Linked DNA regions of Homo sapiens: all the other regions are linked to region 1. Evidence: promoter capture Hi-C in 16 types of primary human blood cells and fetal thymus (Javierre and others, 2016). All regions are on one chromosome and are shown on one strand. The core of a region is centred on a gene start or on the middle of the fragment in contact, and the rest is flanking DNA. Distances in the headings are between cores, read along the strand shown.

What was found. Contacts are between HindIII fragments. The CHiCAGO score rates a contact against its expected background, and 5 or more counts as called.
Region 2: a contact is called between the fragment with the promoter of TMEM60 here and the fragment with the promoter of PTPN12 in region 1, in 14 of 17 cell types (fetal thymus, neutrophils, non-activated CD4 T cells and 11 more). The highest score is 20.7, in fetal thymus.
Region 3: a fragment that was not itself captured here is called in contact with the fragment with the promoter of PTPN12 in region 1 in 9 of 17 cell types (monocytes, total CD8 T cells, total CD4 T cells and 6 more); the score reaches 11.9 in monocytes.

Annotation. Positions count from the first base shown.
Region 1 is chr7:77,535,488-77,540,321 of GRCh38, reverse strand. PTPN12 (protein tyrosine phosphatase non-receptor type 12) reads right to left here and starts at 3,027. Exons shown (of 18, transcript NM_002835.4): 1 at 2,677-3,027. The coding sequence starts at 2,775. It overlaps LOC124901681 (a long non-coding RNA gene), which reads left to right and starts at 3,373. Exons shown (of 3, transcript XR_007060395.1): 1 at 3,373-3,951; 2 at 4,041-4,834. RefSeq lists enhancers at 1-354, 3,508-3,727, 3,898-3,947 and silencers at 2,488-2,537, 2,678-2,887, 3,138-3,437. The HindIII fragment of the contact is 6,799 bases long and covers 1,167-4,834 here.
Region 2 is chr7:77,795,604-77,800,194 of GRCh38, reverse strand. TMEM60 (transmembrane protein 60) reads left to right here and starts at 1,761. Exons shown (of 2, transcript NM_032936.4): 1 at 1,761-1,941. It overlaps PHTF2 (putative homeodomain transcription factor 2), which reads right to left and starts at 1,422. Exons shown (of 19, transcript NM_001395272.1): 1 at 1,224-1,422. RefSeq lists a silencer at 1,342-1,481 and an enhancer at 1,892-2,001. The HindIII fragment of the contact is 8,213 bases long and covers 1-2,917 here.
Region 3 is chr7:77,268,674-77,273,621 of GRCh38, reverse strand. All of the region lies in intron 9 of CCDC146 (coiled-coil domain containing 146), which reads right to left. The region is part of intron 2 of LOC102723791 (a long non-coding RNA gene); the gene reads left to right. Among named protein-coding and RNA genes, the nearest start is that of CCDC146-AS1, 22 kb to the right of the region's middle. RefSeq lists a silencer at 1,846-2,028. The HindIII fragment of the contact is 3,382 bases long and covers 1-3,193 here.

The DNA of each region.
Region 1 (4,834 bases), core at 1,778-4,277:
AGGATGCAGTGAGCCGAGATTGAGCCACTGCACTCCAACCTGGGCGACACAGCGAGGTGTTACATCTCAAAAAAAAAAGAAAGAAAGAAAGAAAGAAAGAAATGAACTCTCCAATAGGAATCCCTGACTCATCCCCAAAGCATGAACCCTAAGGCCACTTCTCCAGTACAGGAGTTCAGAGGCTGGGCAACCTGTCCTGATGGCCCGCATCACCAAACAATGCTCCTTCCTGACGGTATATGCCTAGGGATAACAAGGTGACTAGCATGCAAACAAGAAATGACCAGGGACCACACCATCTCTTCTTCCATAACCAAAGTAAGACGGTAAAAAACTAGTTTTAGGCCGGGCATGGTGGCTCACGCCTGTAATCCCAGCACTTTGGGAGGCCAAAGCAGATGGATCACTTGAGATGAGGAGTTCGAGAGCAGCCTGCAAATATGGCGAAACCCCATCTCTACTAAAAATACAAAATTAGCAGGGCGTGGTAGCTTGCGCCTGTAGTCCCGGCTACTTCGGACAAAAATTAGCCGGGCGTGGTGGCACGTGCCTATAATCTCAGCTACTCAGGAGGCTGAGGCAGGAGCATCGCTTGAATCTGGGAGGCAGAGGTTGCAGTGAGCTGAGATTGCGCCGCTGCACTCCAGCCGGGGCGACAGAGCGTAGAGCGAGACTCCGTCTCAAAAAAAAAACCAACCAACCAACCAACCAAACAACAAAACCCAAAAAAACTAGTTTTAAACATCTTAAATATTCAAAGTATTTTCTTCTACTTTTGCTAGAAAGTAGTAAAAAAGGGACTCCATCCAATTGCTGTAAATGACACCATTCAAAAGATACCAAGACAATAAAAACTCTCAATAGTAAAAAGGGAAAATGCCGTTTTCCTTAACCCTTTCAGATCAAAAAGTAATTTTTCAAAAATACATAGGCTAAATATCAAGAGCAAATGTTTAAATATAAGCAATATTTTTATTTTTAATAAGGAATAAGTTAGATTATTTAACTTATATTTTCAATCTTCAAAAGATACTGAGAAAACTTTACTTCCGTCCTCTATTATTGGTCTGGGGAGGCGGGAATCACAAAGCTCAACGATGCTAGTATAATACTGTGTATGGTCAAGGGCCTATTTTATAAGCTGTTAAAAATTTAACGCTAAAGCTTTACTAGACCAGTCTCTTTAAAACGTGAAAAAGTATTCACTACTAAGTCATATCACCTCCACCATAAAAACTACTGTACTTTTTAAACAAAAAATAAAAACTAGCCAATGTTTGCTGCCCATTCATTTTACAGGCATTAACTGTGTATCCTTCTCATAATCAGATTTCAGAATTAAGTGATTATTCTTCGAGGTGTACCTTACCCAAGATAAAAATTTTCCCCAGCTTATTTCCCATTCCCAACCCCCGCCAAGACTAAGGAGCAACCACTTCCCAAAGTCCCACTTCCTTTTTCATTCCCCAGACCTACAGGGTTTCCAACGCCCCAGTCTTGCGCAATATCCGTAGGAGCAGCAGCCGCAACCACCGCCTCCTAAGCCGGGAAACAACCCTAGAGGGAACATTGTCCAGCAGAAAAATAAAAAGGGCGGGGGTTGGGGGGGTGGGTAACGTAGGAAGTCGACTTCTGGTCTCACGCCTTCGGATCTGACCCCCTCACAGTGTGCTAAAGCAATAGTGTATCTAGAGCAATTTCATGAACAAGACTTTTAACCTTCACCTCCTCTCAAGACTGCCTGCACAAGCAGAGGGCGGAAAGTAGGGGGTGGCGGAGGCGGGGGGGCGCTGGGAAGGTTATCTCCCAGTTCAGGGCTTCGGCCCGTAGCGTCGCCTCCGCCCCACCAGGACTATTGTTCCCAAGTTCCCCACCCCCACCCCGGATAGGAAGTGATAGTCACATCCCCTCCGCCTTCGGCAATATCCCCTGGGGAGTCCGAAGTCGGCTGGCTTCCTTCAGGATAATTCCCCCACCCACACTTATCCCCTGAACCTATAGTCACACGGACCCCAAGACCACCTCAAACCTGGGCCTCAGGAGAGGAGAAGCGGGACGCGGGTAAATGGAAATTAGGTAAACCCATGAGATTCCTTATGGGCAATCCTTTCCCAAGCGTTGGAGATCATGACTGCGACCCCAGAAACGGCCTAAGTCCTACCCTGCCCGCTTTGAGACCAGCTAGAGCAAAGGGATCCCAGGAGTTAGTGCCAACCTCAATACCCCCGTTCCTCTGTCAGCCACGATCTGCACTCCTCCCGGTCACAGCCAGATACCTTGCCTCGACCCTCCTGGGAGGAGCGAACTGCGCGGGGAGGTGTGGAAACGCGAGCCCCCCCCCCCGGCCTGCACCTCACTTGCCTACGGCTCCCGGCCCGGTAAACAATAGGTGGTCGCGAGCCACGGTGCAGGCTGCGGGCTCGGCCGCGCGGCCGCTCCCTTCGCGTCCCGGGAACCCGCGCGGGGGTCGCGAACATGGGAGAAGAAAGGAGGCCACGGGGGGAGGCGCTCTCGCCTCCCGCTGGCCTCCGAGACCACCCGGCTCACCCGGCTGGTGCGCGCCCCCTCCGCCCCTCTCCTCACAGAGGTACACAAAGCACTGGCGGCCCGGCCGGGAGAGGCGGCGATGGGCTCCGGCGCCGGCAAGAAAACGCGACAGCGAGGGGAGAGACTCACCATGAAGTCCCGGGCGAAGTTGTCCTCCCCATTGTGGTCAGGACTCTTCATGGCCTGGACCCTCTGGATGAATTTCCTCAGGATCTCCACTTGCTCCATCCTCCCGCGTCCCCCCGGCTGCGGTCGCTGGCCCCCCCGCCGCCCGCCCGCCCGGCACAGAGCCCGCTCCGTCTTCCCCAGCTCGTTCCCCCAGCACGTCCCTCCCTCCCGACCCCGCCAAGCCCCGCGGCTCCCTCCTCCTCCCCACCGCCCTAGGCGGCGGCTGCGGCGGCACCGGCTGGGCTCCCGACACCACAACTTCCAGGAGCAGCCGCCGCTCTCCCACAGTACCAGGCGAGCCGCTGCGCTAGCGCCAACCCCAACCCCCAGCTTGCTCCATCCTCCTTCCCCGCCCTCCTCCTCCGTCGGAGACGCCGCCGCCGCCGCCGCCGCCGCCGCCGCCTCAGGAACACAGCTAGCTCTCCGCTCGCCCTGCCCCCCCTTCCCGGTTCCTCCTCCCCCCCACCCCCCGCCAGCAGCCGCAGCCGCAGCCGCAGCCGCCTCTCCCCACGGGCGCGTCCCCGCCGCCACCCAGATGCGCGGCCTCGCGCTGCGGCTCCGCCCCAAGCGCTGCGCCCGCAGATGCATCCCCGCCCGCCTCCCGGCCACGCCCCCAAGCCCGCCCCGCCGGCCCCAGCCCCGCTTGGAGTGGCTGGAAGGCACTTCAGCGGGCGGCCTGGAGACCTGACTCCATTTCCGGGGCGTGGCCCCGCCCGGGGTGCTCAGAGGTCGGAGTATCGCTGGGAGGAGAGTTGGTTCATTTGGAGGAGGGAATGCGACTCTGAGCGGGCCAAGCCCTAGTGGGTCAGAGTAGGATTCTGATGGAATTTGCGGTCTCACCGCCTACTAGGGAGGAAAAGCAGTTTTCAGGAGTCCCGCACCGCCGCCAGCCGTGGGCTGGGACTACAAGTCACGGTCTGTGGAGTCCAGGAGTGGGGGCGGGCGGGAGGCAGGCTGGGAGCTGTAGTAGTGTCACCGCCACGTTCGCAGCAGGTAGATGCTCATCTTGCTAACGGATTGGTGAGAGTGGACAGCAATTAGGCTTTGGCACCTTGGAGCGTGGCTCCAGCTAAGGGAAGCGAAACGCTTCCTGGGTGAGAGGACTTTTATTCTTTGCTCATCCTCTTAAACCTGGCGAGTGAGCGCCTGAGGTTCGGAGTGCCTTCTTCACAGACGACGCGAATGTGGGGTCTTCGTGTTTGCCGAACTGAAGGGAATTTGCCTTCCTGCCTTTAGGTTCGCAGCAGTTCATAACTGAATAAGAGACTTTCCTCCATAGAATGGACTTTATAAATCTATTAATTTTTTTTTTTTTTTTTTTTTAGAGCTAAGGTCTTGCTCTATCTCCCATGCCAAAGTGCAGTGCTATGATCACGGCTCGCTGCAGCCTTGAACTCCTGGGCTCAAGGCATCCTCCTGCCTCACTACGTCACCAAGCCCAGCTAATACATTTTAAAAATTTATTATTTATTTATTTATTTATTTTTGGTAGAGAAGGGGGTCTCACCAGGTTGCCCAGGCTGATCTCGAATTCCTGTGCACTAGGGATCCTCAGCTTCCGAAAGTGTTGGGATTTTAGGCGTGAGCCACCGCGCCTAGCCTATAAATCTTTATTCATCTTTGTAAACTTCTATCAGAGAATATATTCTGGTCTAACTCATCATTTTACAAATAAAGCGACTTCCTGACATCCCCCAGCGTATTCTTAGCAGAGCCGTAACTAGAAGTTATTTTACTTTCACAACAGTGGCCTCTCACAATGTGACAGAACTGAAGGATTTGATCCATGAACTGACTTTCGTCATTTATACCCACAAACCTTTTTTTACAGAGCAGATTGGTCAGCGAATTTGGTTATAATAGGAAATATCAGTGGTAGAATACTTTCTCAGATGAAAGTTAGGAGCACTATGGAATTTAGTGAAAAACTCATTGAAGAAAATAGGTGTAGGCCGGGCGCGGTGGCTCACGCCTGTAATCCCAGCACTTTGGGAGGCCGAGATGGGAGGATCACCTGAACCCGGGAGGCGGAGGTTGCAGTGAGCTGTGATCACACCATTGCACCCCAACCTGGGCGACGGGAGTGAGGCCCTGTCTCAAAAAAAAAAAAAAGAAAAGA
Region 2 (4,591 bases), core at 512-3,011, 260 kb before region 1:
GGATTTCAAATTGTTATACTGTTTTGTGACTCTTTAGGCTAAAGTGTGCAGTTTCCAGACTTTCAGAATTCCCCTTCCAATATTAAAAATATGGTGAAAAAAGCCCAGTTTGAAAGAAAATAAACTTTACAAAAATACCTGAAAACAAGATCAAATACTAAGTCTCTTGCCAAAGTCTTGGAGAAAAAAAAAATGAAAGAAACGTTTAAAAATGGCAAAAGCTAACCAAAAACCTTAAGATTAAAGTATCACACCTGAAAAGTAGTCTCAAAGCAAGGAGGATATACTATTAACAAAGAAAGCAACCGAAAACTACAAAATATTTAATATTCACCATGAATTTCAAAATTACTTGGCATGTAAAGTACACACTGAGATTAATAAATTGTTCCAGATTCTGCACTGCCCAGGTTAGTATAAGGCAGTTCCTTGTTTTCGCCACGCTAAAAATAAGAAGGGTGACAGATTAGTGACAGAATGATCCCTGAAGTTACACAAGGAGGTGCTGAGTTAGAAAGCCATGACTCGAAGGACAATACCAGAATGCTGGCTGTCAACACTGGGCAGATAAAAATAAGAAAAGCTGAAGCATGCTGATGGAGCACGGTATTGTTTCCAGACGGGAACTATCCCTTAAGGCCCATGCCTTAAGCACCCACTCCGCCGTGTTGGGATCAGAAAACTCGACTGCCGCCTGCTCAGAGGGGGCAGGGCAGCGACCCTCCTTCCACCTCCTCCAGCGCGCGAGCCGCCGCCCCCTCCCGAGCCCGCTCCTCCGGCCGCTAGCTGACATCTCCCCGCCAGCCGGGCTAGCCACCCGAGACCCCTGAACGCCCTTCCAGGACCCGACGACCCCTCAGCACAGCGCCAAGGGAAGGAAGCAAAGGACAGGGGCCTGGAAGCGGGGCCCGAGGGGCGGGTGGCGCGCTGGGCTTCGGCCCGTCACCATCAAGACTTGAGGACCGCGCGAGCTCGGGAGGAAGGCGGCTGAGCCTCCGCCACCGGCCGACTGATGAGAAGGGGTCGCGGCTGACCCCGGCCCTCAGGTACGGGAGACTGCCGGGAAAGTCGCCGGCGACGGAGGGCGACGCGTTGGCCCCGGAGCCCCCACCTCCATCCCGACGACCGCTCTCCTCCCTCGTCCCGATCCATCCTCGAAATTCTGTCAGAACTCGACGACCTCCACACTGCCCACCCGAGCGCGGAGGTGATGCCGCTCTTACCGTAGGAGCGAGCGCCGCGCCGCTAGGAGGCGGCTGAGGTGCGCGCGGGAGACTCCGAAGCTAGCGCCGCCGCCAACAGAGCCCAAGGAGCCACAACGAGGCTGCCCGCGGGCGCGCTGCCTCCAGAGGGTTGCCCCACCCCCTCTCCCGCAGGATTTTGCGCCGGAGCCTGCAGTCACTGCGCGCGGGCAGGGAGGATGGGAGGAGGGGCGGGGCGTCCCGAGAGGGCGGAGCTGAGCGCCGGCTGCTCTGATTAACATCTGTGGGCCCAATGGGAGCACGGAAACTCCAGGCTGATCTTGGACTGACTTCCCTACTAACCCGTGACAGTAGAGAGGCGGGACCAATGGGTCTTTTTATTGCCGCCTTTCTGTCGAACCCGAAAGTAAGGAAAGGTCGGTTGGTTTGCACTGGCGGACAAATGGTCCAATTACCGCGGAAAAGGGACCTCTGAATCCAGATTGGCGTCCTCTCTACCTATAGGGTAGGCTCAGGGGCGGTGAGAACCAGCCCCGGATGTGGGCGCGGCACTGAGGTAGAACTGAGAGATCCTCTACCGCAGTCGTTTGAGGAGGCGGAACTGAAGTTTTTTCTTAATTATCATGTGACGGGTTCTGGATTTAATGGGGGGAAAAGGGCGGAAAAGGACAAGGATCCAAACTGGCGAATTTGCTGATCTTCGCGTCCCTCTCCGCTTTCCGGCCGGCAGCGCTGCCAGGTGAGTCTGGGGCTCTGCCCTAGCCCGCACCGTACGCCGGCGCTGGTCTCCTGATGCTTCCGTGGGCTGTGCGGCCGACCCTCAACCCATCACACAGCCAGCCCCAAACGCGCACACGCCTGCTTGGCTCCAGGGCTTCTGTGCGCATCCAGCAGGAACCGTGTTAAACTCCAGCATGTGCTGGGCTTACAGCCCATGAAAGGGGAGCGTCCCGGTGGGGCGCCGCGAGCCGACTGTCGGTGTTTGCAGAAGGGCAAGTATAGTTTAGGAGCGTCCTGAAGTTCCAGGGGCAAATAGGCCCCCAGATGAGCTAAGTTGTAAGCAGAACGCTGTTCCTTTGGCCAAGGCTGTTGCTGCACGGGCTTTTCAAAAGCGACTCATTATGAAGAAGAATAAATATGTGGGCTCATGAAGCAAAATTATCTTTGGGATGAGGCAGGTTCACTTGGTAGACTACTGGCAGTGGCGAGAGAAGGGAAATGGGGGCTGATACCCAGCCGTGGGCTATGTGGGTGGGGCTCTATATATGTCCATACAGGGGTAACTCCGAAGGTTTTAAAAATGAGTAAGGAATCATTAACAAATATTTAACTGTCTTCCTAGTGCCAGAAATAACCACCTTAAATGGGAAACATTTTAGTTGAGCACATTTTTGGAGTACGCACCTCCCCCTTTCTTGTGGAGAGAATAGTAGGAAACATAACGACTGCTCAAATTGATGAAGACGTAAATGTAAAACTGGGATCGTATGTCATCGTTGTAGCTCAGCATACAGGCGTACAATCCTTCAATCGTCATTTAAGTATCAGCAGTGCTTCCCCATTGAGGGTATTTCCGTGCAAGAACATAACAGAATTTTGTTGCATCCCACATTATAAATCTTGTAGGCACAATAAGATTGTTACTTGCATCCTTTCACCTCCAGCCCTAAAGCACCTGTGGTAAGTACAGCCAAATGTAAGAAAAAAATGAAGCTTGTCTTATCCGATAGCAGATGGAACAGTTAGGTTTAAGCAAGTGTATAATCATAAACCGTTTTTCAGAGGTTCACAAAAACGGCCTGATAGATTGGAGGTGGGGATTGTGCAATTTACGGGATGAAATCCATCCATGGTTATTAATCAACACACACCCCTCCAACCCTGCTTCCAAATTCAGTCCCACATCCCACTCTATGGCAGCCTCTGGCCGGGAAAGGAAACCAACACAGAAAAATGCCTCCTTAGAAGCAAAATTACTGCAGTATGAAGCCTTTGCCAATTAAGTAAACAAGTTTAAGTGCCACTAGATGGGTATAAGGGAAAAGAGGTGAGTTAGGAGACTAATACTTAACTGTTGAAATAGAACAGATGTGTCCTCTTGCACTGTGATAGCCACCCACTATTTAAAGTAGTAGAGATGTTGCACAGTACATCAAAGTTAGTTCTAAAATATAATTGAGCACGCTAATCTAGGGTATTTGGCTCAATTAGCCAGTTCCTTCACCTTTTCCCTGTTATCTTCCTGCATCTTTCCTCCTACCACGCATGCTTTTGTTCCTATCCCTAGCACCTTCTGATCTTTTTCTCTTTCCATCAAGTATCCTCTCTCATCTTCAGTGTCATTCCCCATTGGCTTATTTCTGTTTATAGTCATAAATTCTTCCTTTCCTGAAAATTTCTTCTTTCAGTTTCATATACCCTATCTTTCATTTTTCTCTTCTCCAAATGCCTCAAAGGAATAAAATGTTCTCAATTGTTTCCATTTCTTGGTCTTCTGTTAACTCCTTACCCAGCTGCATGCAGTCTGGCTTCTGATTTCCCATTCTACTTATCCTTTTTCCAAGTGGCCATAAAGGTTGGTATAAAAAACTTAAGTAGAGGAACATATCATAAACCTATATGTGAAGATTAAATATAATAAATGCTATCCCAAGCTAAGTTTTATGCATTCATAATCAAAATTCTAGGTTTTCAAGAATCAGCAAATTTAGCATTGAAAAACTGTAAGGGCAAAATAGAAAATATTCTAGAAAAGAGGCCGGCGTGGTGGCTCAAACCTGTAATCCCAACACTTTGGGAGGCTGAGGTGGGTGGATCACTTGAGGTCAGGAGTTCGAGATCAGCCTGGCCAACATGGTGAAACCCCATCTCTACTAAAAATACAAAAACTAGCTGGGCGTGGTGGCGCACACTTGTAATCCCAGCTACTTGGGAAACTTAAGTGGGAGGATCACTTGAACCCGAGAGGCAGAGGCTGCAGTGACCTGAGATCGTGCCACTGCACTCCAACCTGAGTGACAAGAGTGAGACTCCGTCTCAAAAAAAAAAAAAATTCTAGAAAAGAGAACAACGAGTAGATACTAGGCCTTCCAGATATTAATACATTCCTAGAGCAACACTAAGTCATATAGTATTAGTGCAAAAGAGAAACATATAGATCAATGAGGCAGAATAGTGATATAAGAAATAGCCCCCAAAATTTAGCATCTAATAATCACAAAACATCAAAAGTTTATTAGGTGGTCCTGATTATTGAATGGATAACAAGTAGCTTAAAAAAATACATATATACACCACCAATCAGTGAGACTATTGTTAAAAGGAAAAAAACTATTATACCAAGAAAGATATTTGTAAGAATTTTTATGAGAAAATAAGTGAGAATTTAA
Region 3 (4,948 bases), core at 253-2,752, 270 kb after region 1:
TTGAACCCGGGAGGCAGAAGTTGCAGTGAGCTGAGATCGTGCCACTGCACTCCAGCCTGGGTGACAGAGTGAGACTCTGTCTGAAAATAAATAAATAAATAAATAAATAAATAAAATTCACTGCTGTGTAGTCAACCTCATCACACACTTTTTGAAAATGCTGAGCAAATCACGAATCTCAATCTTATAAGAACTTCCCTTTATGCCAAATATTCTTTATAAGCCATGGCAAATTAAAATATGAAGACCTGCCAAAAATCTATAATTTGCCAGCTGCAAATGTTTATTATTTAGAAATAAATCTTACTAATAGCTAACATTTATTGAACATAAACCAAGTGTCCAGCAAGGTTCTAAATGCCTGTGTATACGATCTTATTTCATCATTACAATACCCCTCATGAGGTGGGGAATATTTTCTCCAATTGTACAGATGAAGAGAATGAGGCACAAACACATTTAAGCAACTTGCCTCAATGGTGCAGGTGTAAACCCAGGGAGGTAGACTTGGAACCCATGATCTGCCTAACTCATCTAACTCATGACCCAGCACTTTGGAGACATGAATATACTATGACTATTCAAATTATAGTTATTATAAAATGTGAGTACATTTATGAAATTGTATAGGATAAAGAAAAATATGTAATTTATTAATAATAGTGGGGATAGTTTGCTACTTATATATAGTCATTTGATTAGTAGCTGGAAATTTCTTACACAAAAGAAAAGCCTCAACTTTTTGGTTGATACCTAAAATTTCACCATTACATTTCTGTTGTAACGGCTTGCACTTTTCTCCTGTGTTGACGTACTTTAGGGAAAAGGCAAATCTCACTCTTTAAGTCTTTGTTGCCCTATTAGGAATGAGCTTGTCAGATTCTTTGTGATGAAGACGAGAGTAGAGAGGAGGACATGTGGCAGCTGATGGGGAAAGGGTACCATTCAAGGCTACAGGGAGGGTCATCTTGGGGTGCTTCCAGCCTACTTGACTTAGAGCAAGTTTAGAGTTGGCTATTTACACCAAAAGCTCATGACTCCAATCTGATGTGGTTCAGTTCCTACTGTGACAGCACACACTTGTAGGCCCTAAGGTTGAATAATGGCCAAAATTTAGACCCAAGAAAGGAATATCACACTGTCTAGTGATTTGAAGGTTACTTAACAGGATCTTTTTGAGGATCATGCTGCTATGTTAAAGTCACTAAAGTGTGTCTTTGGATGCCCCATCATCCATGAATCAGGGTATCTTCAGTAGCACCTTCTGTACCCTCAGGTGTCCATGTCCTGCTTTTCCATTGGGTCTCCTACCCTGGAGCACTAGCTCTTGAGATGCACACACTGGACTTAGGAAAACGAGATGTGGTCTTGTGAAACATGTCTGACAATATACAGAATGTTGTGGGCTTAACAAACATAAAATTGCTATAGCAGATCAGAAAAGGGAGAACTCAGTATAGAATTGAATAATTGGGAAAGCCTTCCTGGAAGATGTGAATATTCATCAAGGAAGTGTTGATTTCTCCTTTAGGAAAGTCAAGTTAAGACCTCCTGGATAGAGGAACTCCAGCAAACATCCTGGGTCCCTGTCTGATTCTCTGCTACAGGTGTGCCTGGAGTGGGCTGTCCTCATGCTCAGCTCCCGGGTGTCGGCAGATGTAAACGTGAATAACAGGGCCCAGGAACCCTTATGAGGTTTCGACAGAAAATATGATGAGAACACACTCACTAGCTACTATGTCAACTAAAGGCTCTCGACAGATTTTTCTGGCTTGAGGTCTAGACACTTTGGTTATTTCCAATATTTTGAAACACAAACAATACTTCAATAAATTGTATTCATTTTTGAACTCTGGCTACTGCTTCTCTGATACCATTTTAAATTCTCTGTAAAGCCCAGCTCTCTAGTTTCAGGCAGGAATTAGGTAGGCTTGGCTTGTGGAAGAGGTGACATGATAAGCCATTGGTAGCAGAGCCTCCTGGTTGCCTAGCCAATAGCTACCCTCCACCTTGATCTTAGCAACTCTATTAGTCAGGGTTCTTTGTATCTCCATATATATATATATATATATATATATATATATATATATATATATATATATATATATCTCCTATTAGTGTGTGTGTATATATATATATATAAAATAAAAAGGGGAGTTTATTAAGTATTAACTCACAGGATCACAGGGTCCCACAATAGGCCATCTGCAAGCTGAGGAGGAAGGAAAGCCAGTCTGAGTCCCAAAACTGAAGAAACTTGGAGTCCGATGTTCGAGGGCAGGAAGGGTCCAGCACGGGAGAAAGATGTAGGCTGGGAGGCTAGGCCGGTCTCTCATTCACATTTTTCTGCCTGTTTATAGTCTAGCCACACCGGCAGCTGATTAGATTGTGCCCACCCAGATTAAGGGTGGGTCTGCTTTCCCCAGCCCACTGACTCAAAGGTTCATCTCCTTTGGCAACACCTTCACAGACACACCCAGGATCAATACTTTGTATCCTTCAAGCCAATCAAATTGACATTTAGTATTAACCACGACAGCAACAGAATGCTGTTTTTTTTTTTTTTTTTCCAGAGCTGCAATGTATCCAGGAGTCCTCACACTTCTTTGCAGCTGGGGGTGCCCATATGAGCTAAGACAAGCCAATGAAATGTAAGTGGAAGTCTGTGAGGAGGGGTCCTGGGAAAGTGGCTGTTTTCCTGTTAAAAGGAGCTGGCCAAGCCAGCAATCATTTATGTCTTTTGCTCGTTGCCCTTCCTCCTCCTTTTGCCAGTTTATGCTTAAGGTGGAATAGCCATTTTCTGACCATGGAGAAACAATGTACACACTAAGGTTGACTGAAAGGGGAGCTAAAAGGATCCTAGACTTTTCATTATGTGAAATAACCGGTTGTGCCTACCTGTGCTCTTTTTATTAAGTGAGTAAAACAACTCCCTATTTAGCAAAATCATTATAGTTGAGTTTCTATTACTCATTGAGGCCAAATTGCAAACCTAACCTAATAGGTGTTTCTCTTGAAAGGAAACCTTCCCAAGGTAATCTGGAAAATAGGCTGGAGTTAGACTGAAGTCTCCATTAATGTGGGAGGAAAATAACTATCAAGTATCAAAGTTCTAACTACATGGTCTGGAGTTACTTGAGATATTTTCCATTTCTTTTGAGCCCCAAACTGCATATATCAGGTTTTGTAAGCTTATGATAGTTCTTTTAGTTTTTATAGTGTAGCATTTCACATTTAAAAATGTATTTATTGTGATTGTGACCAAACAACAGAAATGTGTAAAGTAAAAAAAAAAAAAAAATCTGCTTCCTACCTCTGCTGCTTCAAGTACTACTCCCCAGGAGTCACTATTAATAGTTTTGGTGTCTGTTCTTCCAGGCATTTTCAATGCATGAATAATCATCGGTAACTTTCATAAAAGTTAAGAAATTAGACATTACTTGTTGCTGTAAATATCCCAATTATTTGATATCAGTGAACCTCAGCTTAACACTTTGATATTTTTCTAAAGCATTCCAACCTTTCATGAGGCTTGTACCTTGAGTTTCTGGGAGAGTCTCTATGTACAAGTCAAACGCCATAGGAGAATCAAACAACTGTCTCTGGGGGGAAATACATTCTGAAGAATAGCTAGAGCTCTTCATGTTTACCTTTTATCTCTTTTAGTTTTGGATTGCATGCAAGTCTGAAAAAATGTTCACTTGGGCTGGGAGTGCCTGGCCTGACCCACTCCTGTTTTCAAGTACTGCCAGCTGTGGGCAGTGGCTGGGCTAATTATAAATCACAGGGTCAAAGAGGAAGTTAGTCTCTCACTGAAACTGTACTAGAACAAAACCAGATTTTTCTTAAAATCAACAAAGGAAAAGGATTCTAATACACTTTAATTTCTGTTAGTTTTATATTCTATGGGTGCTTAGTTTTATATTCAATGGGTGCTATTTTGTGGACTTAATAGCTAGTAGTGTCATAATATAAATAGCTTTTATAATATTTGTTAAAATCTGAACAACTTGTGCGCATTCCACTGCAAACTCCTCTTCGGTCAAAGGCCATGCCTCACATATTTTGTGTCCAGTCAGATCAAACTACAGTGACAAGCCTCACCATCACAGACAGCTTCCAATTAGATTTATAGCAGCCCATGCTTAAATATAAGCAGATAGCCAAGAATTACCATATATTGGAGGAAAGTTTCTAAAAAGAAAGAGACAAAAACAAAAAAAGAAAAATACAGAAAAAACACGGAGAAAAAGTCTTATTTAGGAAAAGAAGAAGAAAAAGAAACCATCATTAATAGCCTCAATGAGATAAGAGATTAAAGATACTATGAAAAAGAAACATCCAGAGAACAAAGAGAGCACAAGGAAATATAAAGTATGATAGCATAATGAAAGAGTAGAAGGGTTGAAAGGAAAACTTGAGGAAATTTCTCTTTTAGCAAGTCAAATGACAAAAAAGAAAGGAAAATAAAAGAAAAAAGAAAATTAGAGGACTGTTTTAGAAGGTCCAACATCTGCGTAAAAGGAATCCAAGACAGAATAGAGAAAATCAAATGGACAAAATTAAATAATCCAAGACAAAGTATCAGAACTTTGGAAGGACATATACTTCCATAGACAGAGAACCCATTCAGTGCCCCACACGATGGATACAATGGGAACATCATTGTAAAATGTAAAAATTCTGGAGGCAAGTAAGAGATCCTACAAATTTCCCAGCATGGAAAAAAAAATGGCTTCAAATAAAGGATCAATATTTAGAATGACATCAAATCTTCTTCATAGTGAAGCTAGAAGGCAGTTAATCTAATGCCTTTTTCCTGAGGGAAAATGATTTCCAACCTAAAATTCCATATCCAATTAAAGCACTAATTGTCTGTATGGCTAGTGTGAGGGTAAAATATTTTTTAGCATGCAAGGTCTTCTGACATACAATTTCCAACACACAA